2 separate regions of the Homo sapiens genome follow, and region 1 is linked to region 2. Evidence: promoter capture Hi-C in 16 types of primary human blood cells and fetal thymus (Javierre and others, 2016). All regions are on one chromosome and are shown on one strand. Each heading gives the region's core, a stretch centred on a gene start or on the middle of the fragment in contact. The rest is flanking DNA. Distances are from core to core; before and after follow the strand shown.

The links. The method cuts DNA at HindIII sites, captures the fragments that hold promoters and counts their contacts. A CHiCAGO score of 5 or more calls a contact.
Region 1: a fragment that was not itself captured here is called in contact with the fragment with the promoter of GPR19 in region 2 in 2 of 17 cell types (endothelial precursors and M2 macrophages); the score reaches 5.8 in endothelial precursors.

What each region holds. Positions count from the first base shown.
Region 1 is chr12:11,574,298-11,578,628 of GRCh38, reverse strand. No RefSeq gene overlaps it. Among named protein-coding and RNA genes, the nearest start is that of LINC01252, 28 kb to the right of the region's middle. The HindIII fragment of the contact is 1,043 bases long and covers 841-1,883 here.
Region 2 is chr12:12,692,807-12,697,432 of GRCh38, reverse strand. It overlaps GPR19 (G protein-coupled receptor 19), which reads left to right and starts at 1,250. Exons shown (of 4, transcript NM_006143.3): 1 at 1,250-1,368; 2 at 1,922-1,974. RefSeq lists enhancers at 1,083-1,162, 1,343-1,502. The HindIII fragment of the contact is 8,608 bases long and covers 1-4,626 here.

The DNA.
Region 1 (4,331 bases), core at 113-2,612, 1.1 Mb after region 2:
AGTGAAAGTCTGATTATTCAAAATGAGATTCATTTTTATTTATTTTTTAGAGACAGGTTCTCGCTCTGTCACCCAGTCTGGAGTGCAGTGGTTCAATCATGGCTCACTGCAACCTCAACCTCCTGGGCTCAAGTCATCCTAGTCAGCCTCCTGAGTAGCTGGGACTACAGATGTGCACTCCCATGCTTATCTAATTTTTAATTTTTTGTAGTGACAAGGGTCTTGCTATGTTGCCCAGGCTGGTCCCAAACTCCTGGTCTCAAGCAATCCTCTTACCTCAGCCTCCCAAAGTGTTGGAATTACAGGTGTGAGCCACTGCATCTAACCAATATTAATTTTTAAATAAAAATTTTAGAGAGTTTCTTTTGAAACTTACTGCTAAGCTTACGAGATTTTTTTTCCCTTCTCACATCCACTTTTTTTTTCTTTTCACATTTTTATTTTATTGTTTAAAAAATATTGCATGACTAGATCATACCCTTTTTTTCAAGCCAAACAGTCTTGGAGCATACAAACAAAAAATTACTCATTGCTCCACCTCCTTCCAATACCACATACCAAAGAACTGATGTTAACAGTCCCAGCCCTCATCATCACTGTTCTACTGCCCAGGTGGATTCAGGGGTCCTCTGTGAGGGTTACAGTTGCTTGGGTTGTCTGGAAAGGCAGGTAATAGTTCTTTTTGCTACGGAATGCCACACATGCATGCATCTGAGCTTATTATGCCTCTCTGCAAAGGGTTGCCCTTGGGGGAGGAAGTGATAACACTGGGTCCCACTAGCGGTGGAACCCTTAGCACATCCTTCATTAATCCCCACCTTCCTGCCTGCTGGTCAAGCTTTGATCTTCTTCTGAGCAGGACATGGTTCTTAGGACATCACATATTTCTTTCCGTGGTTTTAGTATAAATATTATGTACTTGGCCCTCTGGGGGACTGGCTTTGGATATTTAAAGTCTGACTTTGGGGATTTAAATAACATGTTTCTCTAAGTCTCTGGCTCTAATAATGGAAAGCAATGACTTTTAAGACCTTTTTCTCTGCTATGGACTTTACAGAATTATTCTCAAGAGCTTCAGGTTAAAGATTTAATTGTTCTCTCTGTATCATCTTTGTATCTGTATTTCTAAAACCCTAACACTCCTTGAATGGTGGGGAAAGAAAAGATAAGTAAGAGGAATTAAGAAAAATCACATAGTTGAATATCAAAATATTAACCCACTATAGGAACAAAAATATTCATTGAACAATGAATTATGTGAGGTGATAAAGAAACTTTTATTAACAAGAATTTCATTGGTAGGAGGGACTTGACTAGATGAAAATCTTTTAATCACCTTGAAGTAAAAACTGAAATACTAGGGGCGTGTTACAACAAATTTGGTCTGCAAACAACTGCACCAAAGACAAAGGGAGGAATCTGTCCGGCAAAGGAGGATGGAGGTTAATGAGTAGAGGAGACTGAGGGAGAGAGAAAGCAAGAAAGATGGTGAGATGATGTGCACTGTGAAATGGAAATGTAGTCTATGACAAAGAAAAGTAAATTTCACTGTGAAAGAAAGGTAGGATTTGGAGTTTAGTAGGCAATCTAAGAAGGTAGGAACTGATATAGTTTGGATATTTGTCCCCACCCAAATCTCATATCAAATTGTAATCCCCAATGTTGGAGGTGGGACTGGTGGGAAGTGATAGGATTGTGGAGGTGGATTTCTCACGAATGGTGTAGCACCATCCCTCTTAGTACTGTCCTCACAATAGTGAGTGAGTGAGTTCTCATGAGATCAGATCATTTAAGTGTAAAACCTCCCATCTTACTCTCTCTTGCTCCTGCTCCTGCCATGTGAGACTCCTACTCCCTTTTGCCTTCCACTATGATTGGAAGCTTCCTGAGGCCTCCCCAGAACCAGAAGCTGCTATGCTTCCTGTACAGTCTGCAAACCCATGAGCCAATTAAACCTCTTTTCTTTATAAGTTGCCCTGTCTCAGGTATTTCTTTACAGTAATGTGGGAACAGACTAACACAGGGACATATAGGAGAAAATAGAACTAAGCAACATGGCATTAGTTTGGACATAATTACCTATCAGGCTATTACATTAGCTTGAATGATCCTCACAACAACACTAAGATTTAAGTACTATCATTATTATCCCCATTTTAAAATGTGGAAACAAAGACAAAGGGAAGTGAAGTAACTTAACCCAGTATCAGGGGAAACTCCTCCCTCATAGAGAATGGTGAAGAGTAACAAGAAGGCCAAGGAGATGACTAAGCCAGTAACCAGGTTGGCTTGCTGCCACTTTGGAGGTGTGAAAATAGACAAAGAGACTCAAGCAAGACAGCACAGCACACAGTGGGAACATCAGCATGGTAATTCTGGTTCTCCTGTCCCAAAGTCCCATGGGGTGGTAATGGGCAGCTACTCACACAGTGGGTTGTGCCACATGCGGGGAACCTAGGGTTAAAGGCTCAGCACCTCTTATAGCAAGCAGCAAAGGGGCTAGTCCCCTGCCCAAGGAATAAGCTGTAAGGTAATCATGATGTGGGTACCATGGCCAACTTAACTGTTACATGACTAGCTACAGAAACCTCTTTTAAGGCATCCTTAGAGATTGTCTGCCTTTTCTCATAAGGCAACTTCCATACAGACAGTAAACTGGAATACACTCTAAGGACCACCTTTCACTCTTTGCCTATATTTCATCTCATATTCTTCTACAACACATTGACAAAAAACATTAAAAATATAATAATTCCTAAACTGCATAGTTTGTGAGTCCCCTTTATATACATTATAACATTTAAGTTTTCTTTACAACAGTGGTTTTTATTTGGGGTTTGAGGGTAATTTTACCCCTCACTCCCTGGGGACATTTGGCAATGTCTGGAGACATTTTTGGTTGTCACACTAGAAGTTGGGGGAGTGGTACTGGCATCTAGTGGGCAGAGATCAGAGATGCTATGATGCACAGGGCAGCCCTACATAACAAAGAATTTTACAGCCCCAGATGTCAAGAGTGCTGATAATGAGATTGAGAAATCATGCTTCACAGTTTCCTCATATTATATAAGGAAAACTTAATGAAAACAGGCCCAGAATGGAGGGGAATCAACTAATGATGGAACAAAAGGTCTATCTAGCTATTGTAGTAGCAGTAGAGCATCACTAAGTATTTCAATACTTTGTCAATTATAAGAGAATGTAAGAATGAAGAGGATTTCATCTTTATGGCTGGAACAGTTGTTAGTTGATCTACTATTTGCATAGTTGAAGAGAACCAAGCACATAAAATCTTGTGAGTGGTATAGTTGATCAAAAGCAGACCTGCTCCCAGAAGTTATGACTCCAGACCATTGATGCTCACACCCAGGTAGAAAGGGTAGCATGTGAAGAAGACAGGGGCCTTATAGGTGGAGAGAAGCTTGCAGGTACATGATGTTTGCCACAGTTCACATTTGGCTGAGATAATGGGGATAAAAGTATGATTTTTCAAAGTGCTCTGTGGCCTTTTCCATCATTGCAAAGTAGTGGAGGCTTAGGGTTTTGTCCATAAGAGCAATTTAAAATTACTTCAAATTTCTGCAACTCTATAGTATTAACACATTTAAAGTAGATACAGAAATAAAAATGTGCATGACCCTTCATCAAGGATTCTTTTTATTATAATTTATAATTTCATCCAGATGGCCAATAATAGAATATAGGATTGCAATATAATTCATGAAAAGAGTGGTAAGGAAGAACTAATAGAGCAGCATAGTTTAATGTACAAAATTAATCAAATTCTCTAAATTGCTTGGTGCTGTGTTTTCAGTTTTAGTGTTGATATTTAGTATCTTTTTTTTTCTTGGCTAGAATGAGAACAAACTCTCTCACTGTTCTCACAAAGACATTCTGAAGTTTCTTGAAAACTATAGAATCTGACATTATGCTTGTGAAAGAGAGAGAAATCTCTAATTCAGGACCAAGTTACACAATGTGAAAAAGAGATTATGGCAAAAGAATTGGTGTCACCAGGTACCTCTGTGCATGTATAATTTTGATTAAAATAACAGATGGATCATATAGGCACAGAGATGGAAATTCTAAGAAAGAATTTAAAAAATGCCAGAGCTCAAAAACACTGTAACTGAAATGAAAAATGCCTTCAGTGGGCTCATCAGGAGACTGGACATGGCTGAAGAAAGAATCTTGGAACTTGAAGATATGTCAACAGAAACTTCCAAGACTGAAAAGCAAAAAGAAAAAAGCTTCAAAAAAACCCAGAATAGAATATCTAAGAACTGTGGGATAACTACAAAATGTGTAACATATCAGGATAAGAGAGAAAA
Region 2 (4,626 bases), core at 1-2,500:
TAGAAATCCTTCCATAAAAATACTTTTTAAAAAGTCACTTTGCCTGCCTTTTTTTTTGTTTTCAAACGAATCCAGTCATATCTGTAAAACAAGTTTCCATCAGATCTCATTTTATAAGCAACATCCTCTTCTAAGCCACCTGAAACTGACTTTGAAGAGCTCTTCAAACCATTTCAAAAATTTGTTTGTTGGCTTGTGCTTTCTTGGGTTAATGCTTCTAGAGTCGTCTCCAAGTTTCAAATTTTGCATGGCTGCTTTTTTTTTTTTTTTTTTTTTTTTACTTCGCTTCAAGAGTCAGTCTTAAATCATGTAGGTTTTGCTTGAGGTTTGCTCGAGCAAGAGGACCTTAGGTTTGGTCTTATTTGCATTTTTACCATAACTAGGCCTACATTCTAAATAAGTAACTAAATGCCACCTATGAGTTTCATTAACTGTGGCTGCTTGCCACTTTTTAGTTCTGGTTAGGGTGGTGCTATTGTTTTCCTCAGGTTCATTAGAAACATCTTCCGTGACAGCTCTGACGCGGCACCGATTTCTGAGTGTCCAGTGTTTTCCCTACCATTATTTTCTTTGGTCTGAAGTTGACACTTAAACTGTCCAGTTTTAAACCTCCGATCCGTGTTCCCAAATGAAAACATGACTTTCATTACGAATTACACGTCAAGGGAGCAAACCAAGGCGCTCGGGGCGGCGAGAACCGCGACACAGCGCTTCGCCTGGACTGGTAAACAAACCGCCGCGCAGGCGCAATGGCAACAGGACGGTAACCTGGGTAGCCGCCAATGGGCTTTTTCGTAGAGTGAAAAGCGGAAAAGCCAAACAAAACGCTGGTTCCAAGGTGATAAACTGGCTGACTTCCTCTATTTTTACTTTTTTAAAAAATTTTGTTTCTGAAGAAGTAGTTGTGCGGCCTTCTGGGCCTCGCAGAGATCTTCTTCGTGGAATTCCTCGGCCCCAGAGAAATGCCGCTAGCCTGTCGGCTAGTTATATTAGCCTAATTTTTTGTCTTGATCTTTTTCATTTGACTGCAGCACTAATCCTAATCCACTGGGGCAGCAAAAAAAAAAAAAAAAAAAAAAAAAAAAAAAAAAAAGGGCGGGTGGGATCTCAACGCCACGGAAAACCTTCATACTAGCCGGCCATCACCAAACCACGCGAGATCTGCCTGAGGAGAAGCGCCACCCCGGGAGTGCACGTTTGCGCATGCGTCTGGCTCATCATTTTTAGCGCGCAAAAGTTTCAAAACTTTCCGCCTAGTGAGAGGCGGTCCGATTTGGCCCTTGGGGAGTGTCCGTCGCGTTGATCTGATGGATTCACGTACACAACACCACATTCTATGAGATTTTGCAGGCAAAAGTCCACAAGCTCGTATGGTCATCCCTTCTTTCCGTTTTTATATTGGCCGTGAACTCTGTGAGGGGAGGTTTCAGCGACTGAAGTAGTAAAGGAGTGGGAGCGGGAGAGCCGATTAATGAGGTTGTAGAATAAGAGAGAAATCTGAAGGGACAAAGGAGTTTTATTTATTTTTTGGCTGGTGACCAAGAGGATGTGAGTGTGAGCTAAGGTAATACAGTGGGAAGGAGAAGATGGGAAGATTTGAGAGATAAATGAAGGCAGTAGCTCTGTAGCCTACCTGGGAGGCCAGACTAGAAAGAAGTTGACAGTAGAGGACATTTTTCTTAAAAGAGTGTGAACTTATGCATGTTTGTAAACAGGCAGAAATGGCATGCATTTAGTACATGGTGTATATAAGGTGGAAATCGGGACGCCCCTAATGGAATGGAATGAGGAAGATTCTAAAAGCCACAGTCCTGAACACAGGCCGAGGTGGAATTGCGAAGAACAGTCGCGGTAACAGAAGTCAGGAATTTGGGAACTGTCTCGAGGGATCTGACCAATCTGACCTCTTTTTGTCTCTCAGGATATATGGGACACCTGCACCGGCATTGGATTTGGCCCCGCAACATCTTAAAGGTACCACCCAACACCTGAAGTGTCTGCCTCCTTCCGATGGAGCCTCCTGGCCCCTCCCACCTCTCACCAGCTTTACCCTTTAGCCAGAATGAAATGTGGATTTCATGGAATGAAATGGTGGCATTTAGCTACCACATTACTCAGATGTGTCACTGACACCTTACAGAAGTACATACTTCTAGCCTCTAGCCTCCCAGTTCACTAGATATTAGAGTCCATCTTGATATCGGCAGCAATTCTATGCCACTTAGCTACTATAATTTGATTCTTTGTATACTATCTGGAGTACAAGGCAGAAGAATGCTGATGGAATACGTAATTTTACTCCAACAAAGGAATGGCTGATAGGTAAAGAGTATCACTTCATCTGTAAGAAAAACTAAATATGGAAAGCCACAGGATTGAAGCTAGCAGTGATGGAGAAGGATCCCAGTGTGAATATATAGAATGGAAGTACTTCAGTAAAGAGCCAGGCATGGTAATCACTTACCAAGAAAGTGACTTCATTTCATTTTGGCAGCCTAAAGTATATCCTGGCAGCTGCGCTGTATGTGTGAAGTGCATAGGAAAATGCTGCAGGAAAAATCCATGGAGGCAATGGAATAGGATTTCAGGGTTGAAGCCTGGGTGTCTTGTTTTAGGGAGTGGGATCATCCAGCTCTGAGAGGCATGACATCTCGATATGATGTCATATAAAGTGTGTACAATTGGGAATCAGACCTGGGCTTTGACTTTAGGGTCTGCCAGTCACTCTGTGTGTCCTGTCTGAATCTCAGTTTCTCAATTTATAAAATAAGGATAATAGTGCCTGTGCCATAGGATTATTGTAATGACAAAATGAGGTAGCATAGAACTTAGTGTAAAGTACATGCCACCTATCAGTTGAATTGTGGATGCTCTGTGCATCGTAGGTCCGTCTGTATTTAGGGAGCTTTAAGACAGGTACTCTACCGGGTCAGGCGCGGTAGCTCACGCCTGTAATCTCAGCACTTTGGGAGGCTGAGGCGGTCGGATCACAACGTCAGGAGATCGAGACCATCCTGGCAAATACGGTGAAACCCCGTCTCTACTAAAAAAAAAAAAATACAAAAAATTAGCCGGGCGTGGTGGTGGGCACCTGTAGACCCAGCTACTCCAGAGGCTGAGGCAGGAGAATGGCGTGAACCCGGGAGGCAGAGCTTGCAGTGAACCGAGATCACGCCACTGCACTCCAGCCTGGGCGACAGAGCGAGACTCCGTCTCAAAAAAAAAAAAAAAAAAAAAAAAAAAAGACAGGTACTCTACCATGCCCACACATTAGAATCACCTTGGGAGCTTAAAAAAATCCTAATGCCCTGGCTTTTCTCTATACCAATTAAATCAGAATCTCTGCGAGTGGAGCCCAGACATCAGTACTTTCTTAAAACCCTCCATTTTGCAACAAAGGTTGAGAGCCACTGCTTTAAGAGTTCCCTCTAGGGCCAGGCACGGTGGCTCACGTCTGTAATCCCAGCACTTTGGGAGGCGGAGGCGGGGGGATCACGAGGTCAGGAGCTTGAGACCAGCCTGGCCAACATGGTGAAACCCCATCTCTACTAAAAATACAAAAATTAGCTGGGTGTGGTGGCACGCGCTTGTAATCCCAACTACTCCGGAGGCTGAGGCAGGAGAATTGCTTAAACCCAGGAGGCAGAGGTTGCGGTCAGCCGAGATCGTGCCACTGCACTCCAGCCTAGGTGATAGAGCAAGACTCCGTTTTGGAAAACACGTTTGGAGGAATGAAGTTTAGAGCTTGAGACAGGCAGATAAGTAGGGCATCATGAGCTCTATTCAGGAGGAAGGCCACTGTGATAAGAATGGGGTTAACGTACTAATTTGGGAAAGGTCATTGATAAAGCCATTAGTATAATTGCCAGGATACACAGGCTTAGCTGTAGAGATAGAAGAGTGTCAGTCTCCCAAGCTGGTCTTTTGATCTAGCACAGGCAACACAGATAATGATGTCTTTATTGCATTACACATGGTGAATCTTGGGCCATCAGCAGGGCTGATGGCAGTAGTGGGTTGGGGCGGATCTTTACAACCTGCAATACCTCATTGGTTGGGGAGGGCATCAAGGCATGATTGAAATGTGTGTTCTTTTCCAATGAGAGGCTGCTGTACATGGGAATGCATGTGCAGCAGGGCATTGATAATGAAGTGTTTTCCGGTAGCCTATCAGGGTTGATGTGGCAGCTCTGACCACACAAGTGGTTTTGTTATTATTAACAGATGAGAAAGGTGAGGTTCAAGCCTGTCTTTGTAGCCTTTCAGGGAACACAGAATCACTTGGAATACAAGTGGCATGGTCAGCAATTTCAGCTTCTAAGAGACAAGTTACTTGCTAGTAGGACAATTCTGGTTTCTAGGTTTATAAATAACTCAGAAGTTGAAATCACCATACTACTTTAGTTATTGAATATAAGACAAAAAAGGTAGTGATAATGGCCAAGAATATCTTTTGCCACATGAAGTTACCTGTCTTTAATTGGGTTCCTTTTCTTGAAAAGCAGGCACACATGAGTGACAGAGAATCTTCCTGGGACCGATAGGAATGCTAGACAGATTGGTCTCTGTCTTTAAAGGTTTTTATGGGTTAGAGTGAGCCAGGACTAGAGCCAAAGACAAGTAATG